Regions from separate parts of the Homo sapiens genome. Here region 1 is linked to region 2. The links are contacts of gene promoters, found by promoter capture Hi-C in blood cells and fetal thymus (Javierre and others, 2016). All regions are on one chromosome and are shown on one strand. Each heading gives the region's core, a stretch centred on a gene start or on the middle of the fragment in contact. The rest is flanking DNA. Distances are from core to core; before and after follow the strand shown. Region 1 has its middle 10 kb from the start of ECT2. Region 2 holds the start of TNFSF10 (TNF superfamily member 10).

What was found. Contacts are between HindIII fragments. The CHiCAGO score rates a contact against its expected background, and 5 or more counts as called.
Region 1: a contact is called between a fragment that was not itself captured here and the fragment with the promoter of TNFSF10 in region 2, in 2 of 17 cell types (total B cells and naive B cells). The highest score is 5.2, in total B cells.

Annotation. Positions count from the first base shown.
Region 1 is chr3:172,737,449-172,743,993 of GRCh38, forward strand. No RefSeq gene overlaps it. Among named protein-coding and RNA genes, the nearest start is that of ECT2, 10 kb to the right of the region's middle. The HindIII fragment of the contact is 561 bases long and covers 2,978-3,538 here.
Region 2 is chr3:172,517,951-172,525,268 of GRCh38, forward strand. It overlaps TNFSF10 (TNF superfamily member 10), which reads right to left and starts at 5,480. Exons shown (of 5, transcript NM_003810.4): 1 at 5,303-5,480. The coding sequence starts at 5,434. It also overlaps the pseudogene TBPL1P1. RefSeq lists an enhancer at 5,412-5,461. The HindIII fragment of the contact is 8,260 bases long and covers 4,985-7,318 here.

The DNA of each region.
Region 1 (6,545 bases), core at 2,008-4,507, 220 kb after region 2:
GACCTCCTGGATTCGAGCAATTCTCCCACCTCAGCCTCCCAATGACCTAGGACTACGGGTGTGAGTCACTGTGCGGGAGCTCCTTGACCAATTTAACTTGAGGATTATAAGTTTTGTTGATCTTTTCAAAGACTAACTTTTGGTTTTCTTAATTTTCTCATTGTTTGTCTCTTTTCTGTCCCATTGGTTTCTTCCCTTTTCTTGCTGTTATTCATTTTAGGTTTTCTTTGCTATTGTTTTCGTATCTCCTTAAGGTGGAACCTTAGGTTATTCATTCTAGATTTGTTTCTTTTTAAATTTTCATATAACCATTTGAAGCTAAAAAATGTTCCTCTAAGTACTGCTTTAGCTGTACCCCTCAATTTTAATGTTTTATTTTTTATTATTCACCTAGATATGTTTTCTAGTGATTTCTTCTTTTACCCATGGCTTTTATAAATGGGTTGTTCAATTTCTCAATATTTGGAGGTTTCTTAGGTATCTATTATTCATTTCTAATTTAGTTTCAATGTGGTTAGACAACAGACTCTGTATGATTTCAGTTTTTAAAATTTGAGACATCTTTCATGGTCCAGAGTATGGTTTACCCTTAAGACACATACTATATGTCCCTGAAAAAAATACATATTCTGCAATTGCTAGGTGGGTGGTTAATAGGTTGTTCAGGTTATCTTTCTCATTACTGATTTTATTTAGCTTTTCTATCAGGTAATGAAAAACAGTTCTGCCAGGTGTGGTGGCTCACTCCTGTAATCCCAGCACTTTGGGAGGCTGAGGTGGGTAGATCATGAGGTCAGGAGTTCGAGACCAGCCTGGCCAACATGGTGAAACCCTGTCTCTACTAAAAATACAAAAATTAGCCAGGTTTGATGGTGCATGCCTCTAATCCCAGCTACTCGGGAGGCTGAGGGAGGAGAATCGCTTGAACCTGGGAGGCAGAAGTTGCAGTGAGCTGAGCTCACACCATTGCACTCCAGCCTGGGCAACAGAGCAAGACTCCGTCTCAAAAAAAAAAAAAAAAAGGAAAAGAAAAAGAAAAAGAAAAGAAAAAAGGTCTTAAAATCTCCAGGTATGATTGTGAAATTATCTATTTCTCCATTTAATTCTATCAATTTGCCTTTCATGTATTTTGAAGTGGGCATACAATCCAGGTCAAATATCCACCATTTTTTGATGGCCTAGGTTCTATTTTTATTTCAACTGCATTAGCAACTCCATTTTTCAATTCATTTGAACTGTAACAATTTTATTGCTAAGTAAATCATGGTATTCAAATTATTGTCATAGAAAATACTATTCTACAAAGATGGAGTTATTGTCATAATTAACACTTTGGGATACCTCACATGTTTGAAAGTTACTTGATGGTGTGGAAGAGGCCATTTACAGATGTAGACTTATGTATAATTTATGAAAGCATAGGTTGTAAGAAAATGGAATTTTTGATATGGATAATTGCCTATGTTCATAAACAGTGGCAAGTCTTAATTGAATTAGTTGAGTAGCATTAGCATTAACCCTCTTCCATTCATAGCTGGGCTGGCTATGGTACAAAAATCATGTCATTCTTAGATAATATACTCAAACGTCAATTAAAGATGTAAATTTATTAATTTGGAAATATGCCACTTCATCCATCATACCTAGTAAGAAACAACAGGAAAATTTGTCGTAAATAATGGATTAGATAAAAGTAAAAATAATTGAAACTTTATTATCTTTGGAAAAAGCACCACTGATATTATAAGGAGAATAAACTTATTTATATATTAATTCATTCCCTTGTTATTTCAGCAATATCTGAGTGCCTCGTATCTGTCAGGCACTGTGGACAAAATAGTTAACAAAAAGACATTGTCCCTACTTTCATGTGGCTTAGATAGTGAAAGAGACAAACATTAATCTAGTAATTACATCAAGTACCACAAAAGAGATACTCATGGTGCTGGGGGGTGTGAGTGAGGGTTGTGATAAGGTGGGTAGTTAGAAAAGACCTTTCAAGGAGTTGGAAGTGAGCATGCACTAAAAGATGAGTAGTAGTTGCCTACTCTAGGTTAAAGGAATGGGGATTAGAAGGATAGGTAGAGAGAAGAGCAGGTGCAAAAAATGCTTAGAAGGAAGGCAGGTATAGTTAGACCTAAGAGAAAGGAAGTAAACATGGTATAAGATGACGTTGGAGAAGCAGATAGAGGTCAGACCATGCAGGCCTAGTAGGATTGAAGTGTTTTAAGGAGGTGATGACATAATCTGTTTAGACTTGCATAATGTTACTCTGAATGCAGGCTAGAGAATGGATCAGATGAAGGCAGTATTAATTATTGGACATCAGTTACAATGCTATTCTTGGAACAAATTTTGAGACTACTATCTGTCAGGAATGTGCTGTGTTGCTAAGTGCTGGAGATATGGAGATACATTGGTGAATAAGACCAAAAAGGCTCTTACAGAACTGAAAGCATCTTAATTATTTCAAAGGCAAAACATATATGTATTATGAATAAAGATATCGGTACTTTTATATGTACAATATAAAATATAAATATCTATAGCAAGAAGACTAGACTAATGGAAATAAAACTTTTGATCTTGGTTTTGTCAATAACTAGTTACCTGACCTCGGCAAAGGAGTGTAACCTCTATGTTGCTGGCCTTGGTAAAACTCATCTGTTAAATGAAGAATGAGGCTAAGGAGCTGAGATTTTTTTCCCTCCCGTATCTGAAATTTTACTAATTCAATTACATAATTTGAAATAATAGCTTTGTCATATCTGGAAACCTCTTGCTCCTTCATAGAAAGCTAATTCTATTCTTCCAAATGAAACTTTAAGTGCTAAATTTGTAGAGTCTTGCAAGTATGTGTCAAGTGATTTATAGCCTAATGGTTCAGATGAATAAAGCAACAATTCCTATACTAATTTACGGACTATTGAAGTGTGTAGAATAGCTTCTTCTGGCTCACTGTGATTATACTTTCTAAAGCTTATTTTATAGGCACAGATAACAGGTTAGAAGATGCCATATTACAACCAACTTGGAAATATGACATTTTAATTGGAAAATGTTAATAATTCCAAAAAAGGACAGAACTCCATGATCATTCACTAAAACTTTTGAAATAATAATCTTTAATAATAAATTCTTGGGGGGGACTGAATCTTTGTAGTGGTACCTAGTGTGGCATTATGTACAGCTATGTACTTAATGAATGTGTTGCAGGGTAGGAATGGCAATATACAAGGAGAGAAACAATTACATGAGGTCTAGGTGACATTACGATGTTAATATTTAGGTAAAGTAAAACATTTAATCCTATGATGAAAGATTTAAATTTACCATAAAACAGTGTTACTGCTTGATTATATAACATTTCATATTTGGAAGTAAAATCTATAAATTATATTTTGTTGTAACTTTAGGTAATAAAAACAAAGCCCACCACAATAATTGTTGCCTAGATCATCTTGGTAAGAAAATTAATAATTTTTCAAATATACCAGTTCTCATTAGTAGACTAGAACAAACTATAAGGGTGTGAGAAAGCTTTACTCTGATTTGATGAATGATTGTACTGGCAGTGTTCACATTTGTGAACGAGGTTGGTGGGGGGGAGTAGATACACCATAACAAATACTAACTTTCCTAAACTGGCCATTCTCTGCTTCTCTGAGGGAGTATAGATGAAAAAAAGAAAGATGGATATGGAGGGGAGAGGGGAGAGAGGAAAGGAAATATGAATACAGAGGAAAGAGTAAACTGGAAGAGGAACAAGGGTGAGATGGGGATCCCGAAGGATGGTCCAGAGTGTTAGTGAATCCGGTTGGAGATGCAGATGGGGAAGCTGCTCCTCCACAAGAAGTTCCATCCTCCACATCAAAAATTATTGTATTGCATGGGGGAAAATACATCATATTCTTCAATATACTAAGTACTTCAATTCCTTTACTATTTTGTGGCTAAAACATGTTCATTCAGCATCTTAGGTATTGTAGATTACATATTTTTTTATAGTTGAGATATATATATATATGTATATATATATATATATATATTTTTTTTGAGACAGAGTCTCGCTTTGTCACCCAGGCTGGAGTGCAGTGGCGCGATCTCAGCTCACTGCAAGCTCCGCCTCCCAGGTTCACGCCATTCTCCTGCCTCAGCCTCCCGAGTAGCTGGGACTACAGGCGCGTGCCACCATGCCCGACTATTTTTTTTTTTTGTATTTTTAGTAGAGACGGGGTTTCACTGTGTTAGCCATGATGGTCTCGATCTCCTGATCTCGTGACCCGCCCGCCTCGGCCTCCCAAAGTGCTGGGATTACAGGCGTGAGCCACCGCGCCCAGCCTATAGTTGATATATATGTATTTATAATGTGATCACAATGACAAGTTCATTGTATATATCCTATACAAGCTTTAAACAGGTTTTGTCCCGTTGACATATGAATTCAATAATTATAATACTTCCAGCGAAGGGACCTGGAGGAGAGGCTAACATTTAACATAAGGAATCTTGGCTAGGATCTGTGTTGGAAGGGCACAGAAGACTGGCCAAGGGCCACAGCAAGCAGTCCACATCTTCCAGACAGGAGGAGACAGCTTAGGTGCAGCAAGGTTTCCCTGACAAACAAGAGGGTTTAGTAAGAATGTCTGAATCAAAAAAAAAAAAAAAAAAAAGAGGACTATTAGATTTGGTATAGAAGAAGGAACTGTGCCTCCTGGTGAGAAAAGAATTCAATGGTGGGTCAGGTGCGGTGGCTCATGCCTCTTATCCCAGCACTTTGGGAGGCCGAGGCGGGCGGATCACAAGGTCAGCTGTTTGAAATCACCCTTGCCAACATGGTGAAATCCCGTCTCTACTAAAAATACAAAAAAAAAAAAAAAAAAAAAAATTAGCTGGGCGTGGTGGCAGGTGCCTGTAGTCCCAGCTACTCAGGAGGCTGAGGCAGGAGAATCGCTTGAACCTGGGAGGCAGAGGTTGCAGTGAGCCGAGATCTTGCCACTGCATTTCAGCCTGGGTGACAGAGTGAGACTCCATCTCAAAAAAAAAAAAAGAATTTGATGGTGGTCTTTCCTGTGGCAGCCTTGGTGTTGTGGGGGCAGGTGTTGTGGATAGGGTAGGGTGGGGAGAGAGGAACAGCAGCACAGGTGCCATTGCTCCTGCGGTCAGGGGTGGGAAGGCAGCATAGAGAGCCACCATTTCCATCAGGCAATTACAGGTCAGCTGAGATAACATAGTAGTAAGAGTAGCAGCAACCATAATAGTAGCAGAAATAATGGTACTATTAACAGCTAACATCTATTGAATATTTACTATGTGCTAAAATGTTTCAATTATCTATATTAATTCCTTCAATTCTCATAACAATACTTTGAGATAAGTACTATCATATCCTTTTACAGAAGACCAAACTGAGGTATAGGGATGTAAAATAACTTGCTTAAGGTCACATGGCTAGGAAATGGAAAAGCCGGGTCGAAACCCAGGGAGTCGGGTTCCCTATTCTAAAGCTATAGAGCCTCTCAAGCAGACAGGGGAAGCCTATTGTAGAGAAGTGTTCGGGGACCCCAAGGTGTGAAATCTCTGCAAAGTGATGGTGGCCCAAGGAGAAGAGGCCCACTTGGGAATGACAGCGTGTGAGTCAAAGTGTCTGTACCTGGTAGTTGCACTGCAGAAGGGGCTGGCTAAGACAAAAAACCAGGGAAACGAAGAAGTATTGGGGAGCTGTTCAGGCTAAGAGACTAGGAGTGGGAAGCTCTTCAGTTCATGTCTGCACAGAGAGAAGTAAACAGTGTTGGTAGCTACTTTGAGGCAATTTGCATAAGCAATCTTGGAAAACTGACTTGGAAGAAATCAGGTTTCAGCAATTAAGCTATGGGGATTTAAGAGTGAAACATTAGCTCACGTTATTTTAAGCCACATTCCTTGAATATTACCCCCTGTTATACTTTGGATATTTGACACGCCAAACCTCATGTTGAATTGATCTCCAGTGTTAGAGGTGGCACTAATGGGAGGTGTTTGAGTTATGGAGGAGATCTCCCATGAATGGCTTGGTGCTGTTCTGGGAGTAATGAATGAGTTCTAGCTCTGTTAGTTCCTGCAAGAATTGGTTGTTTATAAGAGTCCAAGCCAGGTGTGGTGGCTCATGCCTGTAGTCCCAGCTGCTCAGGACTCTGAGGCAGGTGAGCCCGGAGTTTGAGGTTACAGTGAGCTATGATTAGCATTCCAGTCTGAACAACAGAGTGAGACCTTGTTTCTAAAAATGAGAGTATGGCCTCTGGCACCTCCATCCTCTCACTCTTGCCTCCTCTGTCACCATGTGATGCCTCTGCACAAAACAGCTCCCCTTCCATTTCCACCATGCGTGGAGGCTTCCAAAGGCCTCACCAGAAGCAGAGGCTGGCACTGTGTACAGCCTGCAGAACCATGAGCCATGAGGCCAGGAATGGTGGCTTACGCCTGTAATCCCAGCACCTTGGGAGGCTGAGGTGGGGAGATCACTTGAGGTCAGGAGTTCGAGACCAGCCTGGGCAACATGGTAAAAC
Region 2 (7,318 bases), core at 4,230-6,729:
TCTTGCATCATGAATTTTGGTAGTTTCTCCTATAGAACTTGGCCAATGCTGGTGACTAGACACATGGCGGGTTGACGTGAGGTGCTGTGGTTATTCCAAGAATGATAATTAATACGATACGTCTCCCCCGCCTCCTCCCATCCTTTCCACTTCAAAATATGAGTTTCCTGCAGCATATCATAGGCTGAGGCTATATTCTCTAACTAACCACACTTGGGCATTGGGGGCAGAAGGTAGCGTGTGGGGATTATTTTCATTTGCGTGCCTCTGAAAAGAAAGCTCTTGCACTGGGTGCCTGTTCTTCAGCTCCAGAAGCCCTTGGTTCTGAAAAGTGGATTTCCATGGTGACTGCTCTTGGTGCTGTTACAAACACGGTGGTTGTCTAGGCCAGGGTCAACCAGTCCTTGATGGGGCTTGAGGTCAGCAGGGTAGACTCAGCAAGGTAGACTTCAAGATGGCAGCAATGACCCTGTCTGCTGCCCAGACATTAGTCTCTGGCAATCATTTTCTGCAAACTGCAAATAGCATAAAGGATCATTTATGGAGATCCGTGGAGAGGAAGCCCTTCTCCTTTTTCCTCCCCATCTATGATGTCACAGTGACAGGCCATTCCTTTATCATAAAACTTTCTCAGAGGGACACAGATTTCAGGGGCTAAGCCCATATTTGTTGTTCATGTTTGCTGGTCTACAGGCTATTTGTGAAGGTCCAATCCAATGTTATGAAGCCTTCCTTAACCCTTACACCCTATAATCCTTGCAGAGTGTATCTTCTGCAAATGTTCACCAGACAAAGTGGAGCCTGTATTCAATTTTAAGAAATTAATACTTATGTTGAATATACTTTTCCAAAGTCTACACAGAAGATTCAAACTTATTTTCCCTTTGGAAAATTTCTGATGAAGAAAGTGACACCTTCAGGAGACTTTTCAGCAGTAATTAGAACGCTACTATAAAAATAGCATTGTATTGTATTGAAAAAATGTATTGTAAAAAAAAGTAGGTGCTTCAATTTATTGAGTACCTCCTTCATGCCTGGGTTCAAAATCAGGTTTTACCTTTTACTAGTTTTGTAATCTTGAACAAATCTCTTAACTTCGCCTGAGCTTTAGTTTGTTCATCTGTAATATGGGGTAATTATACTTACATAATAGAATTGTTATGAGAATTGAAACCAGGCAATACTTTTCAAAGTTGCTGGTACACAGTAATTGCTCAATATCTGTAATTCTCCTAGCTTTCTAGCACTCTCAATGAATTCTTCTGCATGCCTAATGTACATGTGTTCATATGTCAATATGCAATTAGGAAAAATGTATGCAAGTGGGAAGATCTTAAGCCTTATATGAAATTTCCATTTTTATAGTAGAATTGAAAAAGAAATTTGATTATATATACAGACAATTGCATGAGTCAGTTGAGTAAAGAACTGGTTGATTCAATCTTAAAATTAGTCCAACTTGTAATGTAAGCAAATTGATGGAGCTACTTGTGTGTGGAGTAACAGCTTTACTCTGTTTATGCTGCAAAGTTAAGAAAGGTTAGGAAATTCTGGCTCCAAATTGGTGAACATAGCAGTATTCCAGTCTCTCGTGTAGACTTAAAGCTAAAGGTATGATTACAGTTTCATTAATATTTTTTTCTTACAAAAGAAAATCTTTTCTAAATGTGTCCTACAATAAACCTGACTTTACTGGTCATCTAATAGTAGCCATAATTTTCATAATTAGTTGCAAATAAAACAAGAGTCTGCCTCATCCATTTCCAAAAGAAAAATTTCCGACTGATTGGGATAACCAAACTTACATTCCACAGGATATGCAAACTACATTTCCCTAGCAAATAGTTACTACTCTATGTCTTTTGCACAATTTATACTTTTCTGAGATCCTTAGCCTTTCATTTCCTAGTCAGCTGGCAGAGTTGGTGCTGCAGGATGCGCTGTGCATGCACAGTGTACATCACAAGGTGTAGATAGGTTAACCCTGTGGACATCCCACTGTGGAGGGAAGAGCCTACAGACCTGGGTGCTAGCCGCCCCACGGCCAGCCTCCAAAGCCTTGTCTGAACTTGAGTACATTATTTCTTGTCTCCTCGTCTGTAAAAAGTGGTTGTGGTGGTGGGGGGAGGATCTGACGTTCCTTGCAGCTCATAATTCTCTACTATTTAATATACAATGAATTAAAATATATATTAGAAGTCAAAAACTGAGTTGGTTTATTTTCAGCAATTTTGCAGTCATAGTTCCAGGGGTTTTCATCGAGAAAATCATAAATTAAAATAGCACTGTTTGTTTGTTTTGTCTGTCAAAGATACCTCAATTTGTACATGGACCATCCACAGGCAGAGATTGGCAGTTTGCTTTTCAATTGTTTTATCATGAACAGCTGTGTCTATCTGATAACTTCTTTATTACAGATTTTACCCATGACATGCCCGTGCCCCAGGAATAGGCAGAATGCCAGTCCTTTGTATTCTCACTTATTGTCAACACAGGAATGCCACATAACTAAAAGCAAAACATTTCAAAGATGTGAAAGTTCACCAGGACTAGCTACATCTGGAATACAAAACGGGAGTGTTCAGTGACTTAGGGCCTGGCTTTGGGTTGAGCCTGACTCTACCCTTGTCGCCTGCATATTCGTGGTGCCTACCACATCTGTGAAGGCTGTTCATTCACTCAATAAGTATGTAGTGAACCACAAGTATTAGTATTAGTGGCTACTTGGGAACCACATGCTAGACCCAGAGGTATACTAATGAGCAGAAGCAGACACAGCTCTGATACAGCTACCCTCACCCTCAAGAATTCATGAGTCAAGAACTGTAACTCCAACCTGCAACAACAAAGCAGGGAAGATGGCTACAGTTACCAAAACAGCATGTTACTGGTATGGAAACAGATACATAGACCAATGGAACAGAACAGAGGCCTCAGAAATAACACTACACATCTACAACCACCTGATCTTTGACAAACCTGACAAAAACAAGCAATGGGGAAAGGATTCCCTATTTAATAAATGGTGCTGGGAAAACTGGCTAGCCATATGCAGAAAACAGAAACTGGGCCCCTTCCTTACAGCTTCTACAAAAATTAACTCAAGATGGATTAAAGACTTAAACGTAAAACCTAAAAGCATAAAAACCCCAGAAGAAAACCTAGGCATACCATTCAAGATGGCATGGGCAAAGACTTCATGACTAAAACACCAAAAGCAATTGCAACAAAAGTCAAAATTGACAAATGGGATCTAATTAAACTAAAGAGCTTCTGCACAGCAGAAGAAACTATCATCAGAGTGAACAGGGAACCTACAGAATGGGAGAAAATTTTTGCAATCTACCCATCTGACAAAGGTCTAATATGCAGAATCTACAAGGAATTTGTTTCTTGTAAAACAAATTGACAAGAAAAAAACCACATCAAAAAGTGGGCAAAAGATATGAACAGATACTTCTCAAAAGAAGACATTTATGTGGCCAACAAACATGAAAAAAAGCTCATCATCACTGGTCATTAGAGAAATGCAAATCAAAACCATAATGAGATACCATCTCACTCCAGTTAGAATGGTGGTCATTAAAAAGTCAGGAAACAACAGATGCTGGAAGGATGTGGAGAAATAGGAATGCTTTTACACTGTTGGTGGGAGTATAAATTAGTTCAACCAGTGTGGAAGACAGTGTGGCAATTCCTCAAGGAACCAGAAATACCATTTGACTCAGCAATCCCATTACTGGGTATATACCCAAAGGATTATAAATCATTCTACTATAAAGACACATGCACACATATGTTTATTCCAGCACCATTTACAATAGCAAAGACTTGGAACCAACCCAAATGCTCATCAGTGATAGACTGGATAAAGAAAATGTGGCACATATACACCATGGAATACTATGCAGCCATTAAAAAGAATGAATTCATGTCCTTTGCAGAGACATGGATGAAGCTGGAAGCCATCATTCTCAGCAAACTAACACAGGAACAGAAAACCAAACACTGCATGTTCTCACTCATAAGTGGGAGTTGAACAGTGAGAGCACATGGACACAGGGAGGGCAACACACACACTGGGGCCTGTCGGGGGTGGGAGGCTAGGGGAGGGAGAGCATTAGAACAAATCCTAATGCCTGTGGGGCTTACAACCTAGATGATGGGTTGATGGGTGCAGCAAACCACCATGGCACATGTATACCTATGTAACAAACCTGCACGTTCTGTACACGTATCCCAGAACTTAAAGTAAAATAAAAAAATTTAAAAATAAAGAAATCTGTTTGCCAGAATTCACAAAGAGCAATAGACCTCATGTGAGTTATGAATCTGAACTTCATCCTGCTGTGTGCTATTGGATAAAGACTCTAAGAGCTACATTACAGATTTTTTCGACAGGAAGTATCACAGTAACAAGGCCCTATTTAAAGGCTGTTGCTACTGCTGTGGAACAGATTTACCCATTTGTGTTTGAAAGCAGGAAAGAAATTTTATCATTCACCACTTAATTGGTTAGAATCTCTTACTGTGCACCTTTTAAAACCTGCTGCACATTGGACTCAAAAGGAAAACTGAACCAACGGTAATTGAGGAAATAGACTCTTTTATTTATTCATGGCTACAGTGTAAGCTCCAGTCCCTTTGGATTTTATTCCAAACCTTGTTATAATATAAAAAAGGAAGTTTACAAGACATGTCATTGCTGCTTTTACAAAAGGACATTCTATTTATTTTCGCAGGAATTCTCATGTCCCCATAAGCAGAGCTGTCACAGTGTGCACTACCTTAGGTTGTTTTATTGTTGTCATTGTTATTTTTTTCCATTTTGAGCTAATGTGTTTTATCTGTGAATAGTCTTTTACATTTTTGTATGCTGAAAATGGGCACCAAAGAACCTGTAAAAATTATCTTTTTCAATTGAATGTGCACAAATAAAAGTTTGGAAAAGGAAAACAAAAGAACTACAAAGCATTTAGCAGAAAGCTTTCATGAAGAGTTGCAATGGCTGATATTATAAAATACACATACTTTTAAAAACAAAAAATCCCTCAGGAGTTTTGTTGCCCACATCTGCTAGTAACTAGTGAAGCCAGTTGTGTAACTGCACTTAGTTTACACAATTTCTTGAACTTACAGTTTTGCAAAGACCTCAGTTGTTATGTGATTTAGCAGTTAGAGTGTACCCACAGAGAAAGGAAGCAGGAAAGTCTTCAGAGAGGGGCAAGCTGACATGCAAAGAAGCAGGTAACCAGACATTTGCTAAGCGCCTCGAAGACTGAGTGCACTGCACTGCACTGACCTGCTTCAGCTCGTTGGTAAAGTACACGTAAGTTACAGCCACACAGAGAGACTGCAGGAGCACTGTGAAGATCACGATCAGCACGCAGGTCTGTCCCAGGCTGGGTCCCCCCTGGACCTCCATCATAGCCATGATCCTGTCAGAGTCTGACTGCTGTAAGTCAGCCAGGCAGCCGGTCACTGAAGCCCTTCCTTCTCTATTCTTTTATAGTCAGTGAGGAAATGAAAGCGAATGAGTTGTTTTTCTGGGTTCTGTGGCCTTGGCCCCACCCACATCTATTGAACCTGCAACTGTCCCTCCCCTTTCCTACTGCCCAGGGACAGCTCTTGTCTCAAAGTAGTCGTTGGAAAGGAGGGAAACTGAAAGAAGCTCCTCTCCTTGCCCTCAGGATCCATGCACCCCTTATCTGCACTCACCTCAAGCCCATTTCTCTCTTCTCTTTCTTGCTCTCCTTTTGATAATGTCCTCAGCCAAAGAGGGGAGGGATTTTCTTTGCTTTTCCCTAACATATCCTCATTCTACCACAGAGCTCTAAGCCTCATGGCCTGGCTGTCATAGGCACAAGGCCTGTTTTCTAAATTATAAGATAATTTTTATGACCTGAAACTTCCATATGTGGTTTTTCTCATGCTACTGTGAGGGTGGGAAGAGGGCAGGGTGGGAGTGGATAAAGGAAAATAGAAATACTGTCTCATAGCAATGGTCTTGCTACATAATTCCATCTTGAATGTCAGAATCTAAATATTGACGACTTCTTCCTCTTTGCAAACCTTCAGACACAAATTCTAATCTCCTTCTCAGATCTCCATCCCTACCAAGACAACATGCCTGTGTGTTAGGCTGGACAGGTAGGAAGTAGTTGACACACTCAGAAAGGCAAAGGAAAAAAACATGTGGATGTTTTCCAAAATATTAACCCCATCACAATGTCTCGCTGTCACTATCCTTTTACAGATTAGGAAAAGAAGTTACAGGGAGTTAATTACCCTCAGATTCAGGACCCAGCCCCAAATCTCCCCACTATCAGATGTCATAAGCTGGCCCAGCTGTATGTTGTCTCTATATCTTATTCAGCATTTCTTTCTTTCCTTTTCTTCCTTTCTTTCTTTCTTTCTTTTCTTTTCTATTCTTTCCTTCTTTCCTTCTTTCTTTCTTTCTTTCTTTCTTTCTTTCTTTCTTTCTTTCTTTCTTTCTTTCTCTCTTTCATGTATTTATTTATTTTTTTGACAGAATCTCACTTTATCGCCCAGGCTGGAGTGCAGTGGTGCAATGGCACAATCTCGGCCCACTACAACCTCCACCTCCCAGATTCAAGCAATTCTCCTGCCTCAGCCTCCCAAGTAGCTGGGATTACAGGTGCATGCCACCATGCCCAGCTAATTTTTTTGTATTTTTAGTAGAGATGGGGTTTTACCATGTAGGCCAGGCTGGTCTCGAACTCCTGACCTCAAGTGATCCTCTTGCTTCAACCTCCCAACGTGCTGGGATTACAGGCATGAACCACTGCATGGGGCCATTGTTTAGTTATTCCATTCTTGACCCACTGAGTCAGAGTTTCTGGCAGTGGACTTAGGAACCTACATTTTTCAGCAAGTACTCCAAGAGATCCTTTGAAACCTAAAGTTTGGGACCCTAGATCTACAGTTACATTCCTGAGTTCATTCAGGCACCGCTGGTCACCATCACTTCCTGCCCTTGCCTTCTATCTGTAAATGAGTCTATATTTAAGAAAATATTTTCAAATTTTAAATTTGCCTCTGTCAAATTGCCAAATTTTTAAATGCAAATTCCTTTCAGACACAGACAAATTGGCAAGGTAGCATTTTTCCTACTAAAAGTTTTAGACATTATGTGAACCTAACACTATTTGAACACACTTACACTCTAAGTCCTAGACTGAATGAGTTTTTTAAATCAGGTGAAAGATGAGTAGGATAACCGTAATGCACAAGACACACAGCCGGGCAGGGCAGAAACAAGAAACGAGAGATGGCAGAGAAACACAGGGGAGAAGAC